Linked DNA regions of Homo sapiens: region 1 is linked to region 2. Evidence: promoter capture Hi-C in 16 types of primary human blood cells and fetal thymus (Javierre and others, 2016). All regions are on one chromosome and are shown on one strand. Each heading gives the region's core, a stretch centred on a gene start or on the middle of the fragment in contact. The rest is flanking DNA. Distances are from core to core; before and after follow the strand shown.

The links. The method cuts DNA at HindIII sites, captures the fragments that hold promoters and counts their contacts. A CHiCAGO score of 5 or more calls a contact.
Region 1: a contact is called between a fragment that was not itself captured here and the fragment with the promoter of MKRN3 in region 2, in 1 of 17 cell types (neutrophils). The highest score is 6.8, in neutrophils.

What each region holds. Positions count from the first base shown.
Region 1 is chr15:23,638,329-23,645,817 of GRCh38, forward strand. MAGEL2 (MAGE family member L2) reads right to left here. Exons shown (of 1, transcript NM_019066.5): 1 at 5,221-7,489. The coding sequence ends at 5,665. Among named protein-coding and RNA genes, the nearest start is that of MAGEL2, 5.8 kb to the right of the region's middle. The HindIII fragment of the contact is 4,818 bases long and covers 702-5,519 here.
Region 2 is chr15:23,564,006-23,571,074 of GRCh38, forward strand. MKRN3 (makorin ring finger protein 3) reads left to right here and starts at 1,669. Exons shown (of 1, transcript NM_005664.4): 1 at 1,669-4,039. The coding sequence starts at 1,778. The coding sequence ends at 3,301. The HindIII fragment of the contact is 4,614 bases long and covers 1,210-5,823 here.

The DNA.
Region 1 (7,489 bases), core at 1,861-4,360, 76 kb after region 2:
GAAATGTAAAATGTTACAGTCCCTCTGGAAAATAGTTTGAAAGGCTCTTTGAATAAGTAACCATAGACCTATCAAATGATACAGCAATTATGGCCATGGGCATTTGCCACAGACAAATGAAAATGTGTGTCCTTAGAAAAACCTGCGCTTAAATGTTCCTAGCAACTTTGCAGTAGCTAAAAAATGGAAATAGCCAATCCCACAAAACAGTAAATATTTTATTAGCATCAAAAAATGAATGACTGATACAAAAGTGTGGATGGATGTCGAGGGCATGATACTCAGTGAAAGACGCCAGTCTCAAAGGTATTAATGCTTTTAGAGCACATTCTTGAAATTACAAAGTTATGGAGATGAAGATCAGAGTAGTGATTGCCAGAGGTTAAGGATGTGGGGGAAAGAGATGGACACAGCTGTAAAGGAGTAGCGTGGGAGAAATCTTGGTGGTGGTGGAAGAGTGCTGCATCTTGATTGCAGTGCTAGTTACACTATCTACACACGTGATAAGATGGCATTGAGTTGAGCTGAACGTGCAGATGGTACAGTGTCCACGTCCTTGATGTTGTACTACAGCTATACAGGATATAAACACTGGGGGAAACTAGGTTAAGGGTATATGAGACTACCCTGCACAGTTTTTGCTATTTCCTGTGAATCTATGATTATTTCAAAACAGAATGTTTTTGAGGCTTTCTCGCAGAAGCTTGTTACAAGGCCAATATTTTGATTCCACAGCTTTGTGGCCCCATCCAGCTGGCTGTTTCAGGGGAAGATTCTGAGCCATTGGAGAGAAGCTCCAGGAAGTCTCCTGGGTCTAGAAAATGTTCTGTGGTGATTGCTTCTGTTAACAGCAGCTCACAAGCTGAATTCACTCAGAACAAGGGATAGCACAGAAAGCAAGTCTCATTGGGAGGTGAATGGGCAGCTTGCAGAACCAGACCATTTGCACAGAGAAGCGCATGCCGCTGACACAGCCAGGATGATCTATTTAGCGTCACTAATAAGAGTAGGAGGAAGCTGATAATGAAGAAGGCTCCTCGTAAGTGTCATCTCTTAAAAAGAGGCAGGTACAACTTTCAGAATCTCGACAGATTAGAGGATTGTACTACTTACTGTGCTAGTAGTGTTGTATATATCCCTTGGTGGAATTCACAATGGAACCCTCTGGGAGATCCGAAAGAACAAATTTGCTTGCACACAGGAAAATGTAGCTTGGGCCCTGTATATCAAGGCCTTTTTCCCTTTAGGACCCTCCTGGTGGTCTGCTTAGGCTTTCAATTCAGAATCCGAGGAATTCTTTGAGCTGTCCCACAGAGGGACCCCTGGCATGGTCTGTAGATTTCTCTGTAGGTAAACCTACTCTAACCAGCCGCTCCTGGACCCTCACGTGTGGAAGGTGAGCTGAGGGTTGCTGCACCTTACTCTAAGGAACACTGAAGGCCTTGAAATGCTTTAGGCAGGGAGAGGCATTATGAGGTGTGCACAGCTGTGTGGCGGCGGCACAGAGGCCCCTGTGCAGCCAATGTGGAGGTTTGATTAAGGGGCAGTACTGAAGGCAGAGACCATGAAAAAGGAAACTGCCAAGTTCTGGCAGGGTGCCGTGTCCACAGGGATGGAGAGGAGAAAAAACACTGACATACAAATTGGCAAAACGGGCAAGACCTGACAACCGATCAAATCAGAGAGAAAAAGGGACCCAGGCTTCCAGCCCCGGCAGCTAGGGGCAGGAGTGCAAGAATGATGTATCCTTTCAAGTATCATGACCATCGGGGTGAATTGCTGAGTTCTGGGGGTGCCTATAACTCTGAGGGCAAATCAATAATATAGGCTACATGCCCAGTAAAATGGATATTACTGCGGCCACAGGGCCCCGGCCCCTTAATCTTGAAAGTCCTCTGTCAATTGCAGCCACAATCCTTAACTCTCGTTTGCTGACAAGGTTGATTCACTGGTGGCTTTGAGAAACAACCGGTCCTTTTCTCTGTTGCTCTCAGGAGTAATGTCTTTGAGTAAAATTATTCCAAAATTCAGATCATCTTCTTAAGACAAATATCCTAAAATATTAACTTGCTTATAGTTGAACACTCGACATAGGAGCACATTGAATTTCATCACTTTGAGAACTATAGTTTTTCTTCACTAGAAATCATATATTTTACTGAGGTCATTTATGGCTTTGGAGAGTGTGCTAGCACCTAGTTTTAAAATTTTCAGGCACAGAGTGCAATGACTTCTCTACAGCCCATAATGGTGGATGCTGAGTCTTTCATTTTCTGTGTGTTGAAACAAACTACAAGTTGTTTTCTGAGGAAGCCTGTGGTTTTTTCAGCAGAAACTCACTGTACTCCCTTGACACTGTAGGTTTATATTGGGGAGGGGGGCCTGCTCACACCCTGATAAATTTCCCATATGTTCATGAACAGCTTTCTCTATGAAGAAGTCTTTGCCTTCTCTGTGGATTGTTCTCATTCAACATATTCCCAAATGAAGAATTTCTAGGTAAAATAGTATTACCATGTTAAAGCCTTTTGAAGACAGAGTTGGCTGCATTGATTTCCAGGCAAATTGTAATAACTTATACTTTCACTGGTTGTGTATAATGGTTCCAGTTTCATAACAATATCATTGACATTGGACATTACATGGGGTTTTAGTTTATTCTATGACAATTTAATAAATGAAAACTGGAATACAGATTTAATATTTCTATCTTTATTAGTGAGGTGTAACAGTTTCAACAGTTATTTGCCATTTTTTTCCTGTGATACATTTTGCCTATTACTAGGTTTGGGCTTTTTGCTCAATTTTATAGTAAAAGAGATTTGTGTTACATTTTCTACATTTTCTACATTTTAGCACTTTCAAATAAGTGGGATTTGAATTCGTTCCCACTGTTTTGTTTGTTTGTTTGTTTTTGTTTTTGTTTTTGTTTTTTTTGAGACAGAGTCTCACTCTATTGCCCAGGCTAGAGTGCAGTGGTGCGATCTCGGCTCACTGCAAGCTCCACCTCCATGATTCATGCCATTCTCCTGCTTCAGCCTCCCGAGTAGCTGGGACTACAGGTGCCCGCCCGCCACCACACCCGGCTAATTTTTGTATTTTTAGTAGAGATGGGGTTTCACCTTGTCAGCCAGGGTTGTCTTGATCTCTTGACCTTGTGATCCACCCTCTTCGGCCTCCCAAAGTGCTGGGATTACAGGCGTGAGCCACCGCACCCCCGGCCAGTTCCCGCTGTTTTTTAACCTGTATTTTTCTATATTCCTGGTCTTTGTTTTCTGCTTTTCACTGTCATGTTAGCTGCACTTTCTTAAACTTTTCAGTTGAATATCTAACTAGTTTACTCATTGGTAATGAACACATTTTTCATTGTTGCAATTTATATCTCATTACAATATAAACAAATTTAGGCTTTAAGTCCTTGGCATTACTTAAAGAAGGCCATTAGATATATGTCACGTGTGAGAGTGAGGTTTGCAGCTGGGAAGTAAGCCTCTCTACCATGGAGCAGAGCCAGCCCCCACCTTAAGTATGGCACCAAAGTCCCATGATGGGACAAAGTCCCAAATTTGGAACAAAGTCCCAAATTTTGTTCCACAAAGAGCATCTTGCTCAGGCACGCCATGAGTTAATGGTCTGGAGAAAACTTTATAAGCAATCATAAATAAACTAAACACAAACAAGAAATACTAGACCAATATGCCACTTTACTGGCCCAGCAAAACCTCCTTTGGGGACAGTTCTCAGCTGGGGCATTGCTGTCTCCTTCAATGGACATTTGCTGTTGTTGTAAAAATAAGTAAACATTGCTTGCGGACAAATGCGCAGGACTCTCTGACCCAAGGAGTTTATAGGAAACTGCCTCCCAGTTTTTGGACTACCTGACCACTTAGACAACTTGAGAAAGAGCTCCTGCGGCCTGGCAGGTCCTGGGGCGGGGATCATCGTCCTGGAAAGCTCAGTTCTGCGGGTGCTAGGAGTAGAGTCTGCATCTTGTGGGCTCCTCTCCTAGTCAGCTTCCTAAGTGGCAGCGCTGCAGGACCAAGGATAGAAATTGTTGAGTGAAGAGCGGATTGGACTTGAAAACAGATGCTACCTTGGCCTATAAGAGAAAAGAAGGAATCTCTGGGCACAGATATAGATAAAATTATGAGCAAAAGTGGTGAAGCAAGGAGTAGCTGCAATCCAAGTATATACATGGTTGTGAAGTTAAGCACTGTGGGAGGGGCTGTTGCTGCGGCAGCTGCGGTGGCACCTCTAATCTGCCGCTAGGTGGCAGGAGAATTCCACCATCGCCACTAACCGCATCTGGGACTTTGGCTTCACCCTAGAAGCGGGATATGGGATTGGATTTCTTCCTTCTGATAAGACAGTATGCGGTGGCAAGTAGGGCTGATGGTCCCCTGTCCACAGGAAGAGAGTATGACCACAAGAACGTCCTTTTGTGTACACCAGCCTGGTGTGTGCTTGAATATCCTTCCTCAAAACACTCAGGCCAGTTCATTCCCTTGTCCCTTTCCTGCCTAGACCAGGTTCATAGCCAAGGGCTGACCGCGGTTGTTCAGCAACTTCAGGCGTTGCCGGCTGCCTTCCCCTACAAGTTAGAATGACCCTTCCCCCCAGGACCTTCCCCTAGAACTCTATGTTGATAGGAATGCACCCTGCCACGCCCTCCCCTAACCCAGCCACTACTGCTGGCAATCTGCAGGGTTTCTAATTAAATGAAGACTGTTTTTTCCTTTTCCCTGTTATAAGCCTGGATATCCTGCAGGGAGCACGTTTCCATCCCGGTAGCAGTGTGTTGATGAAACCCAAATTTGAACTGCTGGACACCCCGCCACGGGCCACATGATTGACAAATACCCTTTTGGCCAAATTCTCCATGAAGCGGGACCACCTGGTTATTTGTAGTCCTGCAGGCAGATGGCCCTTCTTCTCCACATACCCTTAAGGACATTTCTGCTTCTAATAACAACGTTACCAGCTGGGCACTAACGTGTGTGCTTTAATTAATCTCCTGGAGAAATCTTATGTATAACCACCCACTGAAATCACTGCATCCTTATAAAGATGAATGGAGTACTCTCCTTGGAAAACAATTCCATCACCGTGGTTTTTACTATAACTGAGAGTAGTCTTGCTATTCATGTCTATTCAGAGAATACGGCAAAACTTGGCTTCCACCATCTAGTGTAAAAATTAGAATAAAGACAAACACTTCTGTTATGCTGAAAGTATATTTATATATATAGATATAGATATTTACTTCTCTGTAGACAGTTTTTACTGATGAGTCATTTGAACGTTCAAAGAACAACCGATTACAATGCTACATGAACTATACCAGAAATGAGATGGATAGCTTCTCAATTCATTTCACAAAGCCAGCACAAAGCTGATACCAAAACATAACAATTAAAACACAAAACAGAGAACCACAGATCTCACTTAAAAACACAGATGCCAAAATACAGAACAGAACAGTAGCCGATTGAAATCAACACCACATAAAAAATGTACAAAGCTTTGGCAGATACGAAACCAAGTTGAAAATCCAAACGTACACTCGTGGAACTGGAACACAAACACCAGGAACAAAAATGTCCCCCCACCCTGTCAGTGGCCTCTGGCCAGGGAAACACAGGAGCGAGATCTCTGCTACACCTATTAGCGGGGAGGGGGCCTGCTGGTGGGGCCGTGGGCACTGTCACCGGTGTCAGGTTCATCCTCATCTGTGTCTTCCCACTCACACTCTGCGAGCGCTTCAAGGTAATGGAATGGCCAGCTCTGTGGATCTTTCTTATGGAGCTTGGCCAAAAACCTCAGGACAAGCATCTTGCTGGTTTCCAGGAATGCTCGAGGGCCCCAGAGGAACTCATACTCTGCGGGCTCAGTGTAAGGGATTCGCCTGTACTCTAGGTACTTCTGCCTGACAAACACTTCGGTGATGAGCTTCTTAGTATTTCCAAAGAGACCGTTTGTCTCCCGGACATCCAACCCTAACTTGAACAGAAAATTAAAGATCAGATCCTCCCTGACACAGTTGCCTTTCATAAAGATGAGGCTCAAGACCACCATCAGAAGGCCAAACTTGGGCCTGTCTAAATAGGATGCCACCAAATTCCCTGTATGGTAGCCCAGCTTGTTGATGATAATATAGGCGTGGTTTTTGGTATCAATTTCTTTCAATTGATAACCAAAGGCACACTCCAGCTTATTGTTGGCACGGTTGATGATATCTAAGCACTCATCTTTATACTCTCGGAGGATGACTTTCACCATCTCCGAGCGCTGGACAGGCACCTTGGCTTGGTCCTTGACTAAGAGGAACTGCACCAACGCATTTGCCCTCTCATCCAAGGGAGACAAGGGCTGTGCCTCCACCTTGGAATTATCCTGGGTGGCACTGGATCCCGGAGAGACACTTGCGACCTCAGACACAACTACGGGCAGAGAGCTCCCTGGGCTTTCAGAGAGACCCAGGGCCCTGGAGGTGCTCGGGCCCTCCCAGGCACTCAGGGCCCAGGATGCGCTGGGCCCTTCCCAGCCACTCAGGATCCTGGAGGTGCTAGGGCCCTCCCAACCACTCAGGCCACGGGGGGTGTTTGGGTGCTCCCAGTCACCCGAGACCTGGATAGGGCTTTGGACCTCCCAGTCACTCAGATTTAGATTCTCCCAGGGCCTTGGGCCCTGCCAGTCATGAAAGGCTAGCGTGTGGCCACGGCTGTCCTCTTGGGCTTCCAGATGCTTCTTCTTCCGGGTGGCCTTGCCGGAGCGGCGTGGCGGCTCGACGGAGGTCTTGGAGGCCTCTTGAGTGGTGGCAGTTGCCTGGGGGGCAGCTGCTGTAGCCATCAGGAAGGTGGGCACTGCCTGCGATGCCTTTGAGGCATTCATATTGGGCTGTGGGACCCATGGAACTGCAGGCAGGGCCTCTACACAGGCAAAGGGATCCTGCAGAGCATATGGCAGTGACTTTGGGGTCTCTGAGGCAGCAGAGGGGCCTTTAAAGGCATTCAGAGAGGCAGGCTGAAACTGGGAGGTAGCTGGGAAGACACTTGAGGAGGGAGCAAAGGTCTCCGGTGTGGCAGGCAGGTTTTTCCAGGCAGCTGGCAGGTGTGCTCGCGCAGCTGACACTGCCTTGGGAGCACAGAAGGTGGCAGCAAAGATCATGCGGTCTTTTGAAGGGGCCCTGCGCTCCTTCGAGGAGGTCCTGCGCTCTTTAGAGGAGCCCCTGCGGTCTATAGAAGAGGCCCTGCATTCTCCTGATGGAGTCATCAATGATTTAGCGGAGCCCAGGGGAAAATTTGCCGCTGCTACCGGGGGTCCGGGCTGGGCCTGCAAGACTGCAGGCGGTGCCTGCCAGGAAGGCTGGAGCGGCAGTGTGGGCACCTCCGCTTGCGGACCCGATGCCTGGGCCTGCTGGGGGGGTAGCTGGATTTGCACGGCTTTTTGGGAGGGCGGGGCTCCCTGAAAGGGCTGCTCCAGCTGGACC
Region 2 (7,069 bases), core at 419-2,918:
GCCTTTAGATTTATTTCAGAGAGAAAGTTTTAGAGACCTTTATTTAGATAATTATCTAAATTACAGATGTAATTTAACAGATCCATATTCACATGTATTTCTGCTCCTGTCATTTTTACTAATAGATGTTTCCACCAATATGACTATTTCATGTAACTTTTCAAGTTTTATCTCCTAACTTTGTTCCTGATATTCTCTAATGATTTTTAATGTCTGTTATTAATGTAGTGATAACATATTTGAAATTACTGATCTTGGGTATTAGAGCCTTCTTCATTTTTCCTTGATAAATTTCACCAGAAATTATCTGGCTTCAATAAGCAGTTTAAGGGATTTTACTTAATTTATTTCCCTTATTTAATATTTGTTTTTCTTCATTGCTTTTCTTGCCCTTATTATTTGCTTCATTCTGCTTTCATTGCTTTTACCTACTTAATTATAATTTAATTTGTTGACTTGGGTGATTATAAATATTCAGATATGTTTCCACTTTACAGATTTAGGCAACAAAATTTCCTCAAAGAAACTTATAGAAAAAAAATCCAATAATATATAAAATGATATATCATGACAGAAGGGCTTCTTATTAGAAACAAATTGGTTAGTTAAATATTTGAAACTCATAGCTGCAAATAATCACATTAAGAGAATAAAGGGAAAAACAAAATTGTCTCAAAAAATGTATAAAACTACATAACAGAATTCAGTATGCAGTCATGATACGTACTCTCAGCAAAGTAGGAATACAAAAAAATGATTAATCTACTACATTTATCTGCAAAAATGACAAAACGCTCATACATGGAAATTAAAGACCATTCCTTTGTGGATAATATGGCACAGGATATGTTATGAAAGGCTGTCCTGCCACAACACAGCACAGATGGGGTTGAAAGAAAGGAAGGGAAACAAAGGGCTGCCATGAATTAAACCAGTAGAGAAAATAAAAGCCTGGGTCATGCAGGGGACAGTGTCTTATTAGGCCAGCATCAGGACTGGTTGAAGTCTGGCGCTTCTAACACAGTGGGAAAATGAGCATAGTAATCACAATAAAGAAAGACATCTGAAAGGTGCTAACTTAGCCTCGGATCAGAAGTGCTCTCTGCTAATGCCTTGCTGGTGAAAAGCGTATCCAGTGTAAGCCCTCAGAAATCCCAGAAAACAAAGACCAAAAGAAACGGCGCCTTGTCAACCGAACGAATTGAAAAAAGCTTCCTGCCGCGATCGGGCATTAAAAGAAAAAAACCACAGACATAAGATGGAGTGAATAAAAAAAGAATTTATATAATTCATGGATGAAATGTTTCAGAATCTATAGGATTATATTTTTTTTAAGGCAGACAGATACGAAAATACAACGAAGCGTGCATGACCGAAACCAGAAGAGATTAAAGTAAAACCTCATTCTCCTGAGGAAATCGTGTGAGAAGGGACTTAGGGACTGCCGGAACACAGCGAAGCAGAGGCAGAAGGCAGACAAAAGGGGCTGGGTTGGTCCCCGCCTGTGTGAACGAAAAAATATGTCAGATTGGAAAATTGCGGTAAAAACCAGGCAGAGCACGTACGTTGCCCCCACAGGAAGTGTCCGCCATGCTGCCTGTGCCCGGAAGTAGGTAGGAACACACAGTCAGAGGGACCCAAAAGCAGGGGGGAAGGAAAAAGAGATGCACACTTCCCCCAGAGAAGCCTCCGAGCGCGGCCGCCATTCCGGGCCTCAAGCCCATAAAGAAAAAATACCGGAGAGGTTCTGGCACCATTTCGGGGTGCCAAAGCAGCCATGGAAGAGCCTGCAGCTCCCTCAGAAGCCCACGAGGCAGCCGGGGCCCAGGCAGGTGCTGAGGCAGCAAGGGAGGGTGTGTCTGGGCCGGACCTTCCCGTCTGTGAGCCCTCCGGGGAATCTGCTGCTCCAGATTCAGCCCTGCCACATGCGGCAAGGGGCTGGGCCCCCTTCCCTGTAGCTCCAGTCCCTGCCCACCTCCGCAGAGGAGGCCTGAGGCCTGCCCCAGCCTCAGGAGGAGGAGCCTGGCCCAGTCCGTTGCCAAGCCGAAGCAGCGGCATTTGGACAAAGCAGATCATCTGCAGGTATTATATACATGGGCAGTGCAAGGAGGGGGAGAACTGTCGCTATTCGCACGACCTTTCTGGTCGGAAGATGGCCACTGAGGGTGGCGTTTCGCCGCCTGGGGCCTCTGCAGGTGGAGGCCCTAGCACGGCTGCGCACATCGAGCCCCCGACTCAGGAAGTGGCGGAAGCCCCCCCGGCTGCATCCTCCCTTTCCTTGCCTGTGATTGGCTCGGCTGCTGAAAGGGGTTTCTTTGAAGCCGAGAGAGACAATGCAGACCGTGGAGCTGCTGGAGGAGCAGGTGTAGAAAGCTGGGCGGATGCCATTGAGTTTGTTCCAGGGCAGCCCTACCGGGGCCGCTGGGTTGCATCTGCCCCCGAGGCTCCTCTACAGAGCTCAGAGACTGAGAGGAAGCAGATGGCTGTGGGCAGTGGGTTGCGGTTTTGCTATTATGCTTCCAGGGGAGTTTGCTTTCGTGGGGAGAGCTGTATGTACCTCCATGGAGACATATGCGACATGTGTGGGCTGCAGACCTTGCACCCCATGGATGCTGCCCAGAGGGAAGAACATATGAGGGCCTGCATTGAAGCACACGAGAAAGATATGGAACTCTCGTTTGCTGTGCAGCGTGGTATGGACAAGGTGTGTGGCATCTGCATGGAGGTTGTCTATGAGAAGGCCAACCCCAATGACCGCCGCTTTGGCATTCTTTCCAATTGCAACCATTCCTTCTGTATTAGGTGTATCCGCAGGTGGAGAAGTGCCAGACAGTTTGAGAACAGGATCGTCAAGTCTTGCCCACAGTGCAGGGTCACCTCTGAATTGGTCATTCCCAGTGAGTTCTGGGTGGAGGAGGAGGAAGAGAAGCAGAAACTTATTCAGCAATACAAGGAGGCAATGAGCAACAAGGCCTGCAGGTATTTTGCGGAAGGCAGGGGTAACTGCCCATTTGGAGACACATGCTTTTACAAGCATGAATACCCTGAGGGCTGGGGAGATGAGCCTCCTGGGCCAGGTGGTGGGTCATTCAGCGCATACTGGCATCAACTTGTGGAGCCTGTGCGAATGGGAGAGGGCAACATGCTCTATAAAAGCATTAAGAAGGAGCTTGTCGTGCTTCGGCTGGCCAGTCTGTTGTTTAAGCGGTTTCTTTCACTGAGAGATGAGTTACCCTTCTCTGAGGACCAGTGGGACTTGCTTCATTATGAGCTGGAAGAATATTTCAATTTGATTCTGTAGCATCGTGCTGTGGCATGTGGTCTAGTCTGCTGAGGTTCTGTCGTCTGCTATTGCCTGTTTTCCCTGTGTTGACACTCTTACTGCTTTCAGGGGCTGTTGAGGCAGTGCTTCTGTTTTCTTGTCTATTCTGCATATCTTTCCCCCTAGGATTATGGTGATTATCTGTGTTAAAAAATAAGTCCTTAAAGTTACTGTTTTGGTGAAATTAATATTAATGTCAGCTTATGGCTTTTTTTTGTCATCTCTGTTGTCAACAGGATTAACTCAGTTCTAGTGTAGTGTTTACTGAATTTCCACACTTATTTTGAAGACCCTCAAGAGTAAATGTGGCAGAGTGAAAGGAGAAGTTTTAATTGAACTAGTAGCTTTGTGCTATAATAGCCTTAACAAATGGACCCTTGCAGGGCTTTGCAGCTGCTCATCTGTTTGTTTACAGTTTGTTCTTTCCCTCCTTCCCCTTCAAGTGCACTTGTTAAACTGTGATGAACTTGTGATTTTGTGTTTTACTTGACCAAAACCAAGTGTATATGTTTACATGTTTTTATCCTGTTTAGCTTGACATGAAATAATTTATATTTGGAAATATATATTTAAGAATTATATATATAAAAATATATATGTATAAGAGTTATGTATTTGAAAAAAATATATAAAAGAATATACATCACAATATAATATTTATGTTTATGTAATAAAGTAAATACAGAGCTGAAAGCTGAAGGTCAAAGCCTAACAGGATTGGCTGTTGTGTGGATGTGAGTTGTGTGAATAATCTTTCTGTCCCTCGCACAGAAGCCAGTAATTAGCATCTAATGAAAAGGACTGTTCAAGTGGGTCTGGCCAAATGTGACAGATGCAGATCTTAGAGGACTTACAAAGCACTATATTGGTAATTCTTACAATGGCATTAATAGCTTACTCTATAAATACAGAAATGGTTTTCCTATGCAGTTTAGCCACCTTCTCATTAATTCTTTGTAACAGCAAATCCTAGGCTCAGAGGCACAGTGCTTTGTATTTGATATACAAAGTCTCTAGACTTTCCCAACAAGGGGCTTTTGACAAAAGAGTTCAACATAAAAGTAACAAGATTATAAAAGGGAAAATAGAACAAAAATATTAAAACCAATGAGAATAAAAGAATGGAAAGATAAAATAATAAAATATAGAAAGCACTAAAAACTAAGTGTAAGACTAATATAGAAAATCTACATACAACTTAATTAGATTAAATGAAAGCAGTTTAAAGACTGAAAGTCAAAGGCTATAAGACTTCATTACAATCAGAATGAAACATCCTGTTTAAAATACACACAACATGAAAATACAGAAACACTCAAAGTAGTAGGATGGGAAAAAGCCGAACAGGTGCTGTGGACTCTCTTGATTGTAGACAAAGTTTATAGTAAGGATAAACACTTTGCTGGAGATAAAAAGGAATGGTACATAAACATTAAATTGTAATTCACAGGAATATATAACTTCAAATTTTGTATACATTTAATAACATTGTATCAGATACACAACTGATGAAAATCCTAAATCCAGACTCTTAGTGGACAATTTTAATACATCTTTTTAGTAACCAAACAAGCAAAGAAAAAATGAATGTGAAAGAGAATGATGCCATTTTAATGATTTACCTGTACAACGTATGATCTGCATCAACTGCAAATGCACTTATCTTGGCTGAAGTAGCTGAAAAATATGCTGGGAGTCTGAATCTTGAGTCCCAGGTTATTCACACTGTCCTGACTGTCCAACAAAGATGGCACATTTACAGAGTTTATACCATGTACTTTGCATGCAAAAGGATGAATTTGTCAGAACTACCTAATGTGGTACTTGCTATAGTTTTTCTCATTATCATGATGAGGTAAATAATAGAGAATTTAAAGGTTTTGCCCGTAGAGTTTACGACCCATAGCTGTGAATTAGTGGAACAAAGACTGGAACTCAAGCAGTATTTGTCCAGAGCACTCGCACTTACCATGTTCACTAGGAGCAGGTCGACCAGCTGAATGTAGCTGCTGGAGATGCAAGTACAGCCTTTAAATATGGATGATTCAGCCAAGTGGAGCAAAGATGGACTTGAATAAGCTCCCACAGAATGTAGGAGCCATGGGGCTTTTATCTATAGGCTGCCAGCTCAGTGATTTTAGTCCACTGCTTCAGAGTGTGCCTCAGCCTCCTATACTTTTACATTGCCTCTCCCTTCTTACATGACTCCTGGTTCTCCTATTAAGTACCTCAGCCTATTTGCCTGGACCTTTTGCCATATTCCTTTCCTCTTGATTCCTCTTAGCCAAAGAATTCACCAATCAGGACACCCTTGATGCCTGACTATCACTGGCATGCAAGGTGAGTGACAGATTCCAAATAAATTCCAAACATCTGAGGTCCCTGCCCTGCAGTCGTGCAGGAGAAAGAGAGATTAGATGAACTAAACAACCAAAGAATGAGACCAGATGGTGCACTCTCAAAGACTGTGCCAACACCAAAGTCTCAGAAAATAGTGGCAAAGCTTTCAGAGAGGGGTTTTTAAGCTGAGCCCAGAAAGCTGTGGAAAGTTTCTCCAAATGTACACTTCCCTGCATTGTGAAATATTGTGTTTTTATTCAAATAGTATCTTGAACCAGATAATCATAAAGTTCAGTATTTATAGTAGGACAATCGTCAGTAGAAAATAAAGTGGCTTGAGAGACCAAGGATAGTTAGAATCCTGACTCTGCTTCTTACCAGCCATTCAGTTTCACAGTCTAAGCAAGTTACTTAAATTTTCTGTACTTCAGTTTCTTCATATGAGAAATGGGTACAGTTCCACCTACTTTTGCAGGATTGTTGTGAGGATCAAATGTAGTCTGGACAAAAAGCTTGAAACATAGGTTTTTTTTTTTTAGTGATTATATATAGATATGAGATTTGTGCATATTTTTGGACATGAAAAGGTGATTGCACAGAAATTAATCACCAAGATTTTCTTTTTGAGAATCTCTGGAACTTGTATTAATGTAATGTTATCATTTAATGATTATTTTGGTAAGCAAGGGGTATATTACCCTCACATTCATAATTTCAAAAAGATGAAGTATTTTTTCAGCAAAAATTATTCATTTGAAACTAAATATGTGCTATTCAATTACTTAAAATATAACAAAAGAAATACATATTTTTGGCAGAGTTCTAGGTGAGGAAAATAACAAAGGGACATTTTTAGAATATATGGGATTCCTTGTTCCCTCATCAGTTCATTCAGAAAAATGTCAAATAACAGAAGTATTACTGCCACCAGGTCTGGGTGAAATGTTACCAAGGGCTTTCCCACGATCTGACCACTCCCCTGCTGCAGTCAGGAACAAAGAAGCCTTTGCCACACAAAGGTCTGCTCTGTGAGTGATTCAGAGTGTGTGCTGGCCCTCGCCCCTATGAGGACTCAAGGACTCAGCCCTGGGGTCCACAAAAATGGTATCATTTCAGCTACAACTTAAAAAGCCTAAAACAAGTCAGGTTTGCTTTGCTTAGGTTTCATGTGTCTCGATTTGATGGATATCCACACATGCAAATATACTAAGAGAAATTTACCTAGTAATTCCTCCCCTTTGAAGATATGGAAATCACTTTGTCTCATGGCTCACATGTCACTAAATCAATTCACTGAATTTCACTGACAGGGAAACATTTTCAGTCTGTGGTCTATGTCCATATGCTCTTCCATTTTACAGTTTTCCAAACGTCATAGAGGCATGGTTTCTGTTGCCACAACTAATA